Regions from separate parts of the Homo sapiens genome. Here region 1 is linked to region 2. The links are contacts of gene promoters, found by promoter capture Hi-C in human tissues and cell types (Jung and others, 2019). All regions are on one chromosome and are shown on one strand. Each heading gives the region's core, a stretch centred on a gene start or on the middle of the fragment in contact. The rest is flanking DNA. Distances are from core to core; before and after follow the strand shown.

The links. Contacts are between HindIII fragments. The study calls those that stand out against the background at their distance.
Region 1: a fragment that was not itself captured here is called in contact with the fragment with the promoter of MGST1 in region 2 in 1 of the 25 tissues and cell types used here (heart left ventricle).

Annotation. Positions count from the first base shown.
Region 1 is chr12:16,616,534-16,619,233 of GRCh38, reverse strand. No RefSeq gene overlaps it. Among named protein-coding and RNA genes, the nearest start is that of LMO3, 12 kb to the right of the region's middle. The HindIII fragment of the contact is 3,053 bases long and covers 1-2,700 here.
Region 2 is chr12:16,346,214-16,348,913 of GRCh38, reverse strand. MGST1 (microsomal glutathione S-transferase 1) reads right to left here and starts at 1,269. Exons shown (of 4, transcript NM_020300.5): 1 at 1,204-1,269. RefSeq lists enhancers at 1-319, 1,250-2,179. The HindIII fragment of the contact is 4,760 bases long and covers 1-2,617 here.

The DNA of each region.
Region 1 (2,700 bases), core at 189-2,688, 270 kb before region 2:
ATGGTTCATGTATAATTCTGCTCATGATTTTATACTCTTATGTGACTTTGTTGGTAGTATTAGCTGTTCTTTGCTTATATGTAATCCTAAACTAAAAACAGTTAGAGAAAAGATATTTCTTTATAATTTTGCCCTTATGAATGTCTTTACCAAAATTTACCTGAGTTACATGGTGCAGTTTTTCAGAATCTAATGCAACTTCTAAAGTCACTTAGGCAGTGAAGTGGAGGTGTTAACTAACAGGCATGCCTCCAGAAAGGTGATGTCAAGCAAATTGGGGAAATACTTTGTACTTTTGCAGATTTATGATGAATTTTCATATATTAAAGGTGATGAGAAGGTAATTACACTAATTTTGTTCTTCAGATTTACATGGTTACAGAAATGTTTTCTTGCCAAATAGGTTATAATTGTTCAAGAAACAAGCTGCTTACAGATATCTTAAAATTATGAAAGCCAAAAGGGTCTCTGTTTTACTCTTTCCAGAGCTGTCTTTACTAGTGGTCGTTTTGGGGTAAATATTCTTAAGTACCTACTGGAAAAGCTTCCACCTTCTATGACATGCCTCTGATTCCTCTCTGTCATTCCTCTTCTCTCCTGTCATCTTTCTTCTCTCTCTCTCTCTCTAATATTGCCTCTCTGGCTAGCCTCAGCAGTGTTGCTCTCCTTCTCCAAGTTTAGCATTGGTTGACCTCAGGGATTTCAAAGCTAGCTGATCATCAGAATGACTAGATCTTTTGAAGAATAAAAAAAAACAAATATGAGTTCTGGGGCAATTCCTTCCCTGGGATTCTGAGTCAGCAAGGGTAGTGTGGGAATAGTAAAACGGCTTTGCAGATTTCCCCAGATAAGTCTAAATGTAAACCAGGATGGTGAACAACTGGTCTGCCTCCAAACTTTACTGGCCATAAGAAGAAATGTGTTTTGGACTTCAAGCTTCTCCATAAAGAAAGAAAAGAAGAGATATGATAACTAAATGCAGTGCCTGATGCTGAATTGTATCCTGGATGGAGACAGAATGGGGTGGGTTATAAAGGATCTTAATGGGATAATTGATGAATTTTGTGTATGGACTGTGAATTAGATAATAGTATTTTATGGATGTTAAGTTTTTCTGATTTCTATAATTGGGTTTTAACTACTTCAGAGAACATAGAGATTTCATTTTTTGCTCTTGTTTTCCCAGAAACACATGATAAACTATTCAAGGGTAGAGGGGCACAATGTCTCCAATGTATTCTCAAATATTTAAAGGAAAATTTGCATGTATGTATACATATGAAGAGGGAGACAGAGATTTATAAAGTAAATGAGGCAGCATACAAATAATTGTTGAATTTGGGTAAATGGTATATAGGAGTTTCTTGTACTGTTTCAGCAATTTTTCTGTAAGTTTGAAATTATATCAAAATTTATTGTTTAAAAAAAAGCTTTACTGTAGCTAACTAAGGGTCCTCATATTTCTTTCCAAAAAATGTAATGCTAAACTATCTGATTCAGAGTAATCAAACAAATAGATGTCAAAAAAGCAGTTTGGAACCTACTGTCATATCAACTGAATATTAGAAAAGTAATTTTTTACATATTAATACCATTATGCACAATAATTGTACACTTGAGAGTTGAACAATAAGGTTAAACTGATTGAAGTATTAAGTGACATGAAGATTGTTTCCTTTTTTCAACTCAAATGATGGTATACAACCAAAAAAAAATACAAATTACCATTTTCTAAAAATCTATGAAGCAGTCCTATGTTAGGCAAGATATGGAGCACATATCTGATTTGAAGTCAGAAAATGTAAGTTCAAATTTATTTCTTACTTAGTGTGGTGTCTTGAGAAAGTTGGCCAAGCATCCTAAATTTCCTAATCTGTAAAACAAATCTAGTCGTGATAAAGGCCTCATTAATGAGAGAAATAAATGATTTTAAAAAGTTGACAATATATTGCCATATAGATAGCAAACAGAAACTATCAAGCATAATTCTCAGCCATGTAAATACAGTTGTCCCAGAGTATCCATGTAGAATTGGTTCCAAGACCTCCCGCAAATATCAAAACAGCAAATGCTGTAGTCACTGATATAAAATGGTGTTGTATTTGTGTATAACCTATGCACATTTTCCTGCATACTTTAAATAATCTCTAGATTACTTGTAATACCAAATACAATGGCAATAGTTGTTTAGGGAATAACAACAAGAGTATGTCTGTATATGTTAAGTACAAATGCAGTTTTTTCCGAATATTTTTTATCTGTAGTTGGCTGAATCCATGGATATGGGACCTACAGTTACAGAGGGCCAACTGTATGATATTTTGGACATCTCGCAAGTGCTAGTTAGTTTCCTAGGTCGTTGGACCTAACAAGAGGCTCCATCTGAACTGTGAGGTTTGCAATGAGACATGAGAAATATATTTCCTGGTGATGGGGAAGCGGTCGGAGTTGAAGAGAATCAAATGAAATCACAGGATTACAGAAATACTCTACTGCTTGATGAAATATCTAACATTGCACCTAAAATTTTGATCCAAATAGATAAAGGCAAAACTCCCAATCCTTTTGTGCCATGACCCTCCCATGTTTGGGTTTTAAAATCTGATTCTTTTAGATTAATTTAGAGCAATCTTTCAAGTCATTTGTTTTGTAAATGTACATAAATATTCATTTTGCTGATCTTTTATACATACAAACCAT
Region 2 (2,700 bases), core at 20-2,519:
AGGGATTCATAGACACCACTCTAAAACAAAGCGGTAGAAAAATTTTACTCGTCTGCCAGAGAGGGTAATATCCAAATTTGGACTGATTTGCCTTTTTTTTTTTTTTTTTTTTAATTACCAAAGATAATCGCACACATAGCCCTCTTATTTTGGAAACAGCAGAGGACAACAAAGTCCAGTACTATCCTAAGGCCAAGAAAAGCATATGCAAAAGGTAGGTGTAGGCTGGGACTCACAGCAGGCTGGGACCCCAGGAAAACTGGGCTTTAAGGATTGCTCACTGGAGGCCTGGGTGCTATACAGCAATGCTTGCGGGCACCCACTCAGCACTCACTGGGTAAGAAATTAGGGAGAAGAAATAGGGGAATATAAACGTGGAGCTCAGACTGCCACATTTCAAGAGAAGCAGAGAGACTAGAAGATTTACATGCACTCCTCTCTCCTCTGTCCCAAGCCAGCTAGAGCAATATATGACACCTTAATTCCCGAAAAAGAGAGTTCCCTTCTCCTTTTCTCCTTCCACATGGCTTCCTCCTCCAGACTGGGGAAGTGGGGCACAGGTGAGAACCGTCCCAAGGGGCTCACCCTTAGCTCTCTTGTCACTGGCTATAATATCACACAAAAATATTATCATCTAACCCACATCCTCTTGTTTCGATAGCTAGCATTATTAGCAGTAGTATTATTTAGTATTATTTTAAAACTTGCTGATGTTTCTCCTATCAAAGTGAACTCAGAAGAGCAAATCCTGCCTTACAATAGGCATAAAGGCCACTATGCCCATGAAACCTGAGACATCGCAGGCTTTTGCACTCTTGGGGAGAACAGCAGTCGTTCAAACTACAGGCATTTCCTCCATTACTACACGTGCCTTTTCCTCCTTCCCCAGAGTTCAAGGGACCCTTTCAAACAGGAGGTTACTTTGACTTGAAAAGGCTAAGTTTGGAAATCATCACTCAAGCATGAAAAGACTCTCTCGTTTCATTCCTGGAGTTTGAGAAATGGGAAAACTTACCCGCACGGGGACAGAAATACAATTCCCTTTCAAAAGCGATCGATTGAAAAGCTAAGTTTAGCTGCTAAGTGGAGCCAAGCACTTCCAGCTGGCAGAGACCCCCCCAAGTCTTCCATCTGCCACCCACCCTGGCCCTCCCTGCCTGCCACCCTTTGCATGCGGTCCCCTTCTCCCCTCCCAGTACGCACGGTGAGGCCGAGGAGGAGGAAGCAGCAAGCCTGTCCCGCCGCCGGGTCGCGCGCAATGCAGGGACTGTGGCCGCGCGGGCCGGACGCAGGCACCGCCCCTCTCCAGTTAATCTCCTGTTAATTAGCCCTCCCACGTTTAAAGCCCGACCCCAACCTCGCCAAACCCCTCCTCTAAATCACCTGATTTACCCGCCCACAGTAACCATCGCCTGCTGATTCCCTTTGAGCCCTTCTATTTGGCGCCCTTAGAAACTCTGGTTCCTGAAATGCCAACTCCCCTAATCAGTGGGAAGGGGGACAGTAGCCATTGTCTAGGAACTCTGAATTCTCGAACATTTCAGGATCAGCAGAGTTTTGGAAGTTGTTTTTAAAAACTTCGCAGAAAGTTAAAATCTCCAGGGTAGAACTAATTAGCAGGCATTGACAATATTACCTTCCCTTAGACTTCACCTCCCCTGCGCTGGTGGCAAGGCCTCCTTAAAAGGCTGACAATGACAGAATGTAACCCTCAGTAAAGATCACTTACGGTGTTCCAAATTCATGATACCAGACAATTTGCTTTGTCACGATGTCCCCTCCTGTTCAGGGTCCAGAATGAAATTGGAGGCAATTGTACTGGATCAGCTCATTACACAATCAGCTTAGTGTGTTTTTTACAGGGAGGTTTAGAGGAACGTTTACGGAAGCCGTAGATATTTAGCCTACCATCACTATCTAGATTAGGGATACTTCCAAGCTTCCTAGTCCCCATAGTCCCCACAATATTTATGGATCTATCTTTCATGGGTTTATATGAGAAATGTTTAAGGATTTCTGTTTTCAATCTATATTATTTCTCTCCTAGTGCTATATCTCAGACACTCACCACCTGTTGCAAGGTCTACTTCCTTTTTTTGCTCTTAATTTACTCCTTTAGGCTTTAAAGGATATCCCTAGGACTAACTTTCTAGGATGTGATGGACAAGTTCATGTTCTATTAAAGAAAGAAATAACTACCAGTTTGCTCTAGGAACAGAAATTAATCCAAGGAAGGTCTGAGAATGATTTCTATATAAGCATAACAGTAGGAGTTTTGGAAAATCTAGCATCAGAAGGCATCTGTTCTTCACTTTTATGTCTGTATCTTTTCAAAACTCTACTTATTCACCTATCTTTGTAAAGTATACTAGAATCTGTCTGTAACATTAACTGGAATAGGATAGAATTTGAGATGACATAAATCTATTCTGAATTCTCTCCAAAGGAGTTTGGTATTATAAGAATTTAAGACTCTCTTCATTTATTATAAGGTGATACAGGCCAAATCTTATGGATAACATGGCAGAAAAAGGAAGAGGAGAGCTACTGTTTAGATAATTTGGTCTACAGAATGCTAGTTGAATGGTTCTAACATTTTTTTTTTTTTTTTTTTGAGACGGAGTCTGCCTGTGTAGCCCAGGCTGGAGTGCAGTGGCGCGATCTCAGCTCACTGCAAGCTCCGCCTCCCGAGTTCACACC